Linked DNA regions of Homo sapiens: region 1 is linked to region 2. Evidence: promoter capture Hi-C in 16 types of primary human blood cells and fetal thymus (Javierre and others, 2016). All regions are on one chromosome and are shown on one strand. Each heading gives the region's core, a stretch centred on a gene start or on the middle of the fragment in contact. The rest is flanking DNA. Distances are from core to core; before and after follow the strand shown. Region 1 has its middle 61 kb from the start of AKAP1. Region 2 holds the start of SRSF1 (serine and arginine rich splicing factor 1).

The links. The method cuts DNA at HindIII sites, captures the fragments that hold promoters and counts their contacts. A CHiCAGO score of 5 or more calls a contact.
Region 1: a contact is called between a fragment that was not itself captured here and the fragment with the promoter of SRSF1 in region 2, in 1 of 17 cell types (M2 macrophages). The highest score is 6.1, in M2 macrophages.

Annotation. Positions count from the first base shown.
Region 1 is chr17:57,143,479-57,149,388 of GRCh38, forward strand. No RefSeq gene overlaps it. Among named protein-coding and RNA genes, the nearest start is that of AKAP1, 61 kb to the left of the region's middle. The HindIII fragment of the contact is 1,113 bases long and covers 1,998-3,110 here.
Region 2 is chr17:58,003,201-58,008,853 of GRCh38, forward strand. It overlaps SRSF1 (serine and arginine rich splicing factor 1), which reads right to left and starts at 4,046. Exons shown (of 4, transcript NM_006924.5): 1 at 3,744-4,046; 2 at 3,143-3,327; 3 at 2,601-2,773; 4 at 1-2,400. The coding sequence starts at 3,937. The coding sequence ends at 2,206. RefSeq lists enhancers at 1,657-2,856, 3,188-3,237, 3,508-3,557, 3,681-4,399, 4,348-4,397. The HindIII fragment of the contact is 5,045 bases long and covers 2,437-5,653 here.

The DNA.
Region 1 (5,910 bases), core at 1,304-3,803, 860 kb before region 2:
AAAGGAATCCTAGTTAATACCGTGGGATATGGCAAGTACCTAGCGAGTGACTGCTGTAAGATTCTTTGAGCTCTTGCCACACCCTAGACTTGCTGTTTTGGCTTCTGGAGCTGAGAGTGTCCTGCTCTTAGATAACTTTGCAATAGATTCACTACTTCAGAGCATGTGACTGCAACCTAACTCTTAATAAATCAGACAGGAGCTTTCTGCATGGAAAAGAGCTTCTGCCATACATCATTTTTGTTTTCCTCTTGGGGAGAACAGCTATGCTACAGCAATAACCTGCCACGTATACATCTCAAAGCCCTATTTATATAGCCATATGGATAAATATATATAAATAGGACTCGGGAATAATAGATTAAAGGATCTGCTCATCCGTAGAAGACTTTATGGGGCTTTCAGGACCTAATGGTGGCCTGATTCAGTAAGAAAAATGGGTCTCTAGTAGGATGTGGCCAATAATTAGATGAGTCCATAACCTGACAGATGCTCACCTGGGAGATAGAGAGGTCGGGGGACCTTGTGAGGGGCCAGGGACTCCAACAGAATAAGCTGTAAGCGGGAACAGGAAGGGAACGGATGTGCAAAGTCATGAACTCTGAGCTGTCTTCCTAGCTCAGCTCCTGTTCTGTGTGACCTTGAGCAGGTCACTTGCCTTCTCTGAGCTTTAGTTCCTCATCTATAAATGAGGAATGTGGACGTGCTGACCTACAAGATTCTTTTTTTTTTTTTTTTTTTTTTGAGATTGAGTCTCACTCTGTGTCCCAGGCTGCAGTGCAGTGGCTCACTGCAGCCTCGACCTCCTGGGCTCAGGTGATCCTCCCACCTAAGCCTCCTGAGTAACTGGGACTACAGGCATGTGCCACCATGCCTGTCTAATTTTTGCATTTTTTTTTTCAGTAGAGACAGGGCTTTGCCATGTTACTCAGGCTAGTTTTGAACTCCTGGGCTCAAGCAATCTGCCTGCCTCGTACTCCCAAAGTGTTGGGATTATAGGCGTGAGCCACTGCGCCCAGCTGGTTCTTTTCTTCTCTGACATTAAAATGACTCTGAGGCCTATGATCATGGTCCTCTGGGTGGGGAAGGTTGGGAAGATCTCATCTGAGTTTAGCTTATCCCTAGGCCTTGACCAATCGCTGATGCTCCTTAAGGGTCTCCTACATTTTGGAGGCATATGCAGAAGGAACCTGAAGTCACAAGATCAGAGGTCCTGCGGCAGTTTAAATAACAATAGCAACAACTGCTACGACTACTTCTCCCATTATTCAGCACAACTGCAGCTGGGGGATTTAGGTTCATGGTCTGCAGCTAACATTTATTGCGGACTTACTCTGGGCCAGGCACCATTCCTTACGCTTTATGTATATTATCCTGCTTCACCCTCCCAACGACCCCAGGAGGTAGGTACTGTAGCTTCTACAGGAGGTAGAAGCAGAAGCACAGAAGCCTAGTGTGTGTCCCAGGCCACACAACCGGTAAGTGAGATTGTTAAGATGCCCCCGGGAGTCTGTCTCCAGAATCTGTGTTCCTCATCACTCCTGCATACTCCCCATTTACAAGGGCAGAAACTGAGGCTACAGGAGGTTAATTGATCTGTGAACAGCCAGGATCCTGGGAGTTCTCAGACCTGTCCATTTTGTGAGAAGGGAAAAAGTCTCGCTGCTCCTTGTGTTTCTTTCTGTTTTTCCAAGTCAGTCCATTTTTTTTCTTGTAACAAAAGTCTATTTACGGAAGAGACATATAGGACCCAAGATAACCATGCATCAGTCATGCTTCAGTGAACTCCCAAATCAAAGATGGGCTGGATAACGTGTACCCGACGCTCTTGGCTTTTTCAGCATTTCAGACGTTTTTGTTGTTGTTCCCTCTGTGGGTTGAAACCAGGCTTTTGTGACTTGATGAGGACACATTTTTCCTGGGGTGTAATAATGCCACTGGTGTTAGCCCTAATGCTGAAGAGAGAACATTTGCTATTTTGGAAGAGTTAATCCCAAAGCTTCTTTCTTTTGCTCCTGCCTTTAGAAAAGGCATTTCTGAGGCAGGTCCAGGCAAGAGTACTGCCTCTGTAATCCGCCCTCAATCATCTTAGCGCTAATCACCGAGCTTCATTGAGTACTTTGTAATGTGCCAAGCTGGGAGCTGAAGGCTGATTTGATTCTCTTAACATCTTCTGAACGGGTATAGCTGTTACCCCCATATTACAGATAGGGCACTGAGGCATGGAGCTTAAATGGCTTGACCAAGATGCCCCGGCAGCAAGGGGCAGAGCTGGGAATAGAACCCCGACTCCAGACATAGGCTATTAATGCCACAGTCTGCTACTCCAGGACTGACCATTACGTTTGTGGGGAGTGGGAGGGGAATGAAACTGCAGGGCCTCTTGTTCAACAAAGATTAAGACTTTAAGACTGCTGGGTGCAGTGGCTGAAGCAGTTTGGGATGCTGAGGTGGGAGGATCGCTTGAGCCCAGGAGTTCAAGACCAGCCTGGGTAACATAATGAGACCTCCGTCTCTATCTTTTAAATATAAAAAACTAAAAAATTAAAAATAAAAATAATGTAGGCCGGGCATGGTGGCTCACGCCTGTAATCCTAGCACTTTGAGAGGCCAAGGCAGGTGGATCACCTGAGGTCAAGAGTTCAAGACCAGCCTGGTCAACATGGCGAAACCCCGTCTCTACTAAAAATACAAAACTTAGCCAGGTGTGGTGGCACATGCCTGTAATCCCAGCTACTCAGGAGGCTGAGGCAGAAGAATCGCTTGAACCCGAGAGTTGGAGGTTTCAGTGAGCCAAGATCGCGCCATTGCACTCCAGCCTGGGCAACAAGAGTGAAACTCCGTCTCAAAAAAAAAAAAAAAAAAAGTGTTAAGACTGTGACGGCAGAGTATTAACCAACTGTGGAGCCCTTCTCAGTATGAGGCCCTGTGTGACTGCACAGGACAGATGCCCAGGAAGCTGGCCCTGACTACCCCTTTGGGCAGTTCCCTGGCTGTCTTCCAGCTTCCAGCCCTCTTTTCCAGGGGGACAAAAGCACCTTGGCCCAGGCAATGTGCTTTATACCGCCCTGACAGCTATGAAAAAGAATGGCACAGCCTGGGCTTTAGAAAGCTTGGGTTGCTGCAGGTTCCTTCTGAGCAGCAGGCAGAGAGGGCTCAAGCCAAGACTGGGTGCCCCAGCCCATCTTCTGCCTCATCGGTGCCCCCGAGGGCTGGCACTTGGCGAAGCCCCACCCCACCTCCAGGCTGTGTCTTGTGGAGAACACAGCCCCTCTGGACTCCTCCCTGTCTCTGCCCATCCTGTGGCTATGTTCATGATGGGGCCTCCTGGAGGTTCAGAGAGGGCCAGAACATTGTCCTTTCTTTAAGCTTTGGTTTATTAAACAATGGAGAAATGTCAAAACGGATTGCAAAAATTGTGGTGTGCTTCAAATGTGTGCATGTTTAAAATCAAGGCCATTATTATAAAAACAAATAAGATGCAATATAAATGTGCTTTTCCCAAGACAGTTACTGGATTTATTCATTCCCAGCTCACATACACAGTAGAACCCGGTAATGGAATACGTGGTGTTATGATATAGATGGGCTGTTGTCCACGGCTTCTGCTTCATATCTCCCATAGCCCCTGTTACAGCCTTTACTTATAATGTTGGGTGTATTAGGCCTCAGGGGCAGGCTTCAGGAAACAGAATCTCTCTCTTGCCCTCCATTCACCTAACTCAAGATAGGACTCTCATTTTCTTTTTTTATTGAGATGGAGTCTCGCTTTGTCACCCAGGCTGGAGTGTAGTGGCGCAATCTCAGCTCACTCCAACCTCTGCCTCCTGGGTTCAAGTAATTCTCCTGCCTCAGCCTCCTGAGTAGCTGGAATTACAGGTGCCCACCACCATGGCTAGCTAATTTTTGTATTTTTAGTAGAGACACAGTTTCACCATGTTGGCCAGTCTAGTCTTGAACTCTTGATCTCAGGTGATCCGCCCGCCTCAGCCTCACAAAGTGTTGGGATCACTGGTATGAACCACTATACCCAGCCTCAACTTCCCCTGCCTTTCTGATTGTGGGTCTTAAGGCTTTCTTCAGAGAGGGTCCCACCCTGTACCCTGGGGGGAAAATGCTTTGAAACTTCCATAAATACCCAAGAGGACTGGGTTGGGGGAGCTCCCGGATAGCTGAACGTGTGAAGCCTGGTATCCCAGGGAGGGGATGGAAGCTCCACGCCCTTTCTCCTATACCCTATGCATCTCTTCATCTGTATCCTTTGCAATATCCTTTTTTGGAGACAGAGTCTTGCTCTGTGCCCAGGCCGGAGTGCAGTGGTGTGATCTTGGCTCACTGCAACCTCTACCTCCCGGGCTAAAGCCATCCTCCCACCTCAGCCTCTTGAGTAGCTGCGATTACAGGCATGCGCCATCACGCCTGGCTAATTTTTGTATTTTTTGCAGAGACGAGGTTTCACCATGTTGGCCAGGCTGGTCTCGAACTCCTGGCCTCGAGTGATCTGCCCACCTTGGCCTCCCAACGTGCTTGGATTACAGGCGTGAGCCACTGTGCCTGGCTGCGATATTCCTCATAATGAACTGGTAAATGCGAGTGTTCCCCTGAGTTCTGTGAGCTGCTCCAGCAAATTAATTGAACACAAAGAGGGTGGTGGGGGCAATTGTGAAGCCAATCAGTCAGAAGTTTCAGAGGCCTGGACTTGCCACTGGTGTGTGCTGGAGGGCAGTCACGGGGACTAAGCCCTCAGCCTGTGGGAGCTGACGCTATCGTAGTGTCTGAACTGAATTGGAGGACACCCCCCTGGGGTCCGCTGCTTGGTGTGTGGGGAAGAAACACACATACCTTTGGTCATAAAAATTCTGTGTTGATTGCTGTGGTGTGACAGCTGAGGAAAAATGTGGCTGGAGAGAGTTTTTCCCTATAGAATATAATTATTTTTTAGTTTTCATTGAGGTATAATGCACGAAGTATGGGGAAAGTGCACTGATCTTAGGTGTTCCACTTGCTTTTTATATATGTATATACCTCCATAACCACTACCGACATCAGGATATTTACAGCACCTAGAAGTTTCTCTCACCCCCCTTCAAAGTCAGTACCCCCGAAGAGGTCAGTGCCGTTATGGGTTCTATCACCTAATGATTGGTTTTACCTGTTCTTGGATTTCCTATAAATGGAAGAATACAGTGTATATTCTTTTGTGCTTGGTATCTTTCTCTGAACATAATGTCTGTGAAATCACCTATGTTTTTGCATATGGCAGTGGTTTATTCTTTTTATTGTTGAGTAGAATTCCATTACGTGATTATGCTGCAATATATTCCCCATTCTCTTGCTGAAATGGGCATTTGGGTTGCATCCAGTTTGGGGCTATTAGGAGGAAAATGCTGTCAACATTCTTGGACACTCTTTTTTTTGGTGGATATATGCACCCATTTCTCTTGGCTGGGGTATGCGTATGTTTAGTTTTCTGAAGTGGTTGTACCAGTTACCACTCGTATAGCAATGCATGAGGGAAAATATACGTTTAAAACTGTAGGATGAATATCCTCTTCTTTCGATCTATTTGGTATCCCTCTGTGAATGCAGCATTTTGCAGAGATGTCCAAGTTTGAATAGCATGCTGGGCAGCCCCCTCGTGCCCCACTGCGACCATATCTGATAGGAAAATTCCACGGAGACACTGCTTTCTCTCAGGAGCCTCTGTACCCCATCTCCTCCACATTACCCTCCAGCTGCCGGGGCAGGGGCTTTGGAGGTAGGATGCCTCCAATCTGACTAGCTCTGTCAATGAGGTCATGGAAGGGAAAACTAAACCAAGAAAGGAAGAGCCAGAGGGGAAAAATGAGGGGGAAGGAAGTGGTCGCATGTGACAGAGAGTCCTGTAGGATCTTGGGAAAGCCGTGTGGA
Region 2 (5,653 bases), core at 2,796-5,295:
AACCACTTTATAACAAAGTAGAGAAGCTTATCTTTCAGATGCTAGATCCATCCCCCACCGTCATTTACCAAGTTACATACACAAATGCCTTATTCTCCCCTTTTGCTTTCCCCTGAAGACTTTTACAATTAACAATAAAAGATGGCTAATACCATTAGATTGCCTTTTAAGAACTTTTAATTTGCTAACACATTAACACAAGAGTCAAAATCTTATCTTACTTAACAATTTAAAGATTAACTGATAGACCCAGTTAGAATCTTACATGAAGAGGAAAAAGGACAACCATGCATAGTTTTTTAAAAAATGTTTATTTTTTCAAAGAAAACGGCAATAGCCAATTGGAAACCTACTTATTCTTCAACTCCAATTTTGTTTTCTTTAAATTTAGAAGTGACTTACTGATTTACTATTTTAAACAAACCCCCCCTTTCCCCTTTAAATGTTTACCATCTACTCGTGCTGAATCCTTCCAAGGAGATTGCTCCAGCGTTTATCTCCAGGTCCTCGCTTTGCTCCTTTTACCAAAAAACGCAAAACACAATTCCATCGTGCATCTTAAGGGCTCCAATCGTCAAAAATAGGAAAAAAAAAATCTTTGGAATAGCCAATTAAGTTGAATAAAAAAATCCACACGAATGCGGTTTGGTTGGGGCAGGAATCCACTCCTATGTTCCTGGTAATCTGATCCCGCTCCATGAATCCTGGTAATTCATCCTCCCTATCCTATCCACATTATGATTTGAATCCAATGATCCAGCTCCAAGGATTGGGATCCAGTGAGCCCTCTCCAATCCAAACCTTTATAACCAGCAAAACCAAAAAAGAGGAGGCAAAATGTTAGATACTGTAATCAAAAAAGGTTTCTGGGGAATGATGAGTTATGTCTGTCATCAGTTTAACAGATGCACATCAATAACTATCAAATTCCCCAAAACAAGTTTCTGAATGGTGTTCAGATAAATTTTAGAAACTTAATCATCATAGAGACTAATTGGAAGAAGCATTTTGTATTTACAGTTCAACTGATAATGCCAACACTTGTTACTGTACAGCGTATTACAGGTTTCGTGGTTGCAAGAAGTTACGTAATTTAAGTTTACTGGCATTGCTACCCACCTAAGTCTAAAACTAAATCTAATGCTCCCATTTGCAATTTAATTTGTAAATTAAAGTCTTTTAAACATATGAACCAATTATGAATATTAGTTTAAAGGGGAAGGTGAGACTTAAAAGTATTCCCAACTAGATTATCTACACCAATACATTGGAACTCTATATTTTGCTTTCATTTTGTCTTAAAAAAATGAAATAGCAACGCTCTATCAGTCACACAGAGGACATGCAGATTTAGCAGTATTGATATTATACTCTATCTTGTTGGATTTAAAAACACCCTGTACCCACATGTACACCAACAGCAGGTCACACATTAACAGTTGTAACTAAGCACTGTGACAAATTAGCCAGTTCTTCCCACATTAGTCCCTATTAAAACAAAAATGGGGGGAAGGGAGCAAAATAAGTTGCTACAAAATGGGCAATATAATTTTGCCACAATTGCCAAGGTTTAAAAAGCAAAGCAATTGTAGCTAAAGACAACTGAATAAAATGTTTGCAAGTGTTTTAAGGAAAATGTATATAATCATTTTTAACCCCTGCCTTTTAGTATAAGGTCAATACTGCCAATTTCATCTGTGACAATAGCACTTGGAGTCATACCATTGCCTCCATTATTGATCTGATCCTCCTCAATCCTCCTTTTGACAATCCTAAAATGATTGAAATGTGCTCCACAATCCTTAATCCAAAGCATTCTTAATCCATCTCTTCAGATATGTCTACAGAAAGACACATGAAAAGCAAGATAAACATAAGAACTTCCCCAGGTAAGATAACCACAAACACCCCCAACATCCCAGTTCACACAAACCAGGGCAGATAGACATTTACACAATATCACAGTCTGAAGAGTATGGAGTTAACTAAATTTAAACAATCCTGTCTATGACATCACTTAAAATACAATTTATCAAAGACACGAAGGGAATGTAGATGTTAGGAGCAAGGGGATATTACAAGAATGCAATTCAACACTTTAGCCCATTCTGAACAAAACAGTTTGAATTAAAAAATGAAAAGATTGTACTGAATAAAGGAAAACTGTATACAACATGGGTTCTACAAAAAGTGTCACCAATCATCTTATGTACGAGAGCGAGATCTGCTATGACGGGGAGAATAGCGTGGTGATCCTCTGCTTCTCCTTGGGGAGTAACTGCGACTCCTGCTGTTGCTTCTGCTACGGCTTCTGCTACGACTACGGCTTCGAGATCGAGATCTTCCATAACTTGGACTTCTGGGCCCATCAACTTTAACCCGGATGTAGGCAGTTTCTCCCTATTGGATAGACAGAACTTTCCATTGAAAGATCTAAGCTTTCATCTATCTTCAGACATGCTGAATGAATACAATGTAACTAAAACCAGAAATCTGGCAATTTACTTGGACAACCTTGCCTGAATCCTTACCTTGAAATTCCACTGTTAAGACCACTGTATCCAATTCTGGTCAAAGAAAAGAATACGTGTATAACCTACCTCATGAGATCTAAACTTAGTGTTATCCAGTTTTCGAACTGCATAGGTCATATCTTCTTTCCGTACAAACTCCACGACACCAGTGCCATCTCGGTAAACATCAGCATAACATACATCACCTGCTTCACGCATGTGATCCTTTAAATCCTGCCAACTTCCACTTGGAGGCAGTCCTGAAAAAGTGATTTTTTTTTTCTTAGTACCAATTATCTTAAATTTCACGTTAAGCTGGTAAGGTACATTAGGACAAAGAGTACTTTAAAGTACTTAATAGGTGTACTTAAGTGATACCAGGTAAAGAGAGCTGGTAAGATTCTGGAATCCAGAGTCCAAAATTATTTGTAACGATCTTCGTATCTAGTACCGCAACCTAATTTGGTAAATCACCACAGCAGCAATCCTCGTTTATTAAATTCACCCAAAAACTAAAGCAATTTAAGACCTAGCATGAAAAATTTGCAATTATTAAACCTGTCACGCAAGAGAAAAATTTTAGGTAGTTTTCGTCCCTTCACATCAATCCACACAACCAGTACACTCACCAGAGACAACCACTCTGTTTTCAGACCGCCTGGATGGGGGGCCATAGCGACCTCGGGGAGCTCCGCCACCTCCACCCCCGCCGCCGCCTCGGCCTGTTCCACGGCCGCTTCGAGGAAACTCCACCCGCAGACGGTACCCATCGTAATCATAGCCGTCGCGACCATACACCGCGTCTTCCGCGTCTCTGCGGGATCGCAGAAAGTAAAAGGGATGAGAAACACCAGGAGGAGAAGCTCGCTCAGTTGGGAACCAGCAAACCCCCCGCACATGCGCACCCAACGTGGAAGAGCCCACATGCGCCGCATAATAGGAATGGCCCCTCCCCCACCCAGAAACACGCCAGGCTCCCAACCACTACACCAGCCCTCAGCGCCTCAGTTTCCCGCTCCAGCCTGCGAATGGGCTCCGGGGACGTCCAAGGCGAGGCGCCAGAGAAGCCACATCAACTCAGCTCCTTACTCGACTCCTGCATGGGCGATACAGTCTCGCCCCAACCTCTCTAAGAGCCCCCGCTTCCCCGTTCTCTATGTTAAGGCCTTGGAGCCTTCCCCAACTACTCGGACCTATTTCCTCAAGGCTGCAAGCCCCATGCCGCCTCACCGCGGGTCCTCGAACTCAACGAAGGCGAAGGGCGGTCCCCCGCGGCGATTCTTGAGGTCGATGTCGCGGATAGCGCCGTATTTGTAGAACACGTCCTCAATGTCCTTGGTTCGGATGTCTGGAGGTAAGTTACCCACGTAGATGCGGCAATCGTTGTTCCCTGCGGGGCCACGAATCACACCACCTCCCGACATGGCGGTGACGAAAAGCGCGGACTCGAGAACAGGCCTTCCCACCAAGCCTAGCGCACGGCAGAGCGAGCCCGCAGCGGCACCACGTCTCCCGCGGCCCCTCCAAAATGGCGCCTTTATCAGCTCGGCGCACGGATATGGGGGGGAGACAGAGGAAGAGAAGCGGAAGGAAACAGCGATTCGATCCCAACACGCACGCGCGGGAGCGCAACGGGTGCTGCGAGGGCTACGTTCAGCGCACGCGCACGCACGCGCGACGTCACCCTCCCCACGAAGGGGGTAAAAAAGTCCCCCGCGTTCCCAGCTTGGGGTGGTTTGCGAACAGAGTGACCAGCCGTTTGGTAAAAGTTAAATAACGAACTTTCGTTAAAGGAGCTAGTCATCCAGGTCGGGTCTTGAAGGATGGTCGATTTCTCCAGGAATGAGGATCTTTGAAAGCAACTCGGCGCCTTCAAAGCACTTGGTGAAACCTAGCCTAAAGCGTTGTCCCACCATGCTCTGCGGCGATAACGGCCTTTGGCGGGAAAGAGTCTCGGAGGCGGGGCCAAAGGGGGACGGCCCGGGCGGTTGCTCCGGAAACCCGGGTATCTTCGTAGGGTGCGTCTAATCCAGAGCTGAGTTGCGGGTGATTGAACGGAGAGCTGGGGCGTTGGTTTGTCTTCCCGCCCCTGCTGCGAATAGACCGTGGCTGCTTAGACAGATGTGTCTAATTTAGCGAAACCGATTTAGATTCCTTAATCCTCTTCATTAAGTACCGTTCCGCCTTCTCGTCAGAACTTTGCATAGCTCGGGTCAGCACTCCTAGTGCTAGTCGCAGTGGGTCCGTATCCCGACCGGCAACGTGGTACCCGCCAACCAGAAGGGGTAACACCGTACCGCCTATGGGACCCACACCTTTTTATCTCTTGTTAGTCGCCTGTCCGTGGGACTAGCGCAGAATGCCTGCAGAATGAATCGTTTCTGTTGTTTCCTTTCAAAGAACGAGAAGGAAGAAAGGGTGCGTGTGTGCAGTCCTTTTTTCAAAAGTTTTCCCTAAAAGTTACTGATACACCAGGTTTTGAAAATACCGGTCCTCTCAGGTAATAAAATGGAGCAAAATGGATGTGAGAACCGTAACCACTAGATACCGCGGTTGCTATTCAGGACTGTGATCCTGTTTGCCTGCGGCATTGGGAGATAACATTTTACATTTTTTTTCGACGTCTGAAATCTGGATTTTTATGTGAAATCCTGGGATTTTTAAACGTCGCTAATGAATTAAAATTCAAATCAGGCTGGGCGCGGTGGCTCACGCCAGCACTTTGGGAGGCCGAGGCGGTTGGATCACTTGAGGTCAGGAATTCGAGACCAGCCTGGCCAACATGGTGAAATCCCGTCTCTACTGAAAAAACAAAAAATTAGCCGGGCTTGGTGGCAGGCGCCTGTAATCCACTCTACGCGGGAGGCTGAGGCAGGAGAATCGCTAGAACCCTGGAGGCGGAGGTTGCAGTGAGCTGAGATGGCGCCATTGCACTGCAGCCTGGGCTACAGAGTGAGACTCCTCCAAAAAAAAAAAAAAGGAGGGGGAAACAACAACAAATTAAAATCAAACCCTGCAGTCATAAATTTGCCATAACAGATCTACACACTGAATTTAAGGGATAATTTTCTTCATGTTATTTATTTACAGTAGTCCCTTTCCGCAAGGATGTGAGGCAACTTACAGAGATACCATAAAAC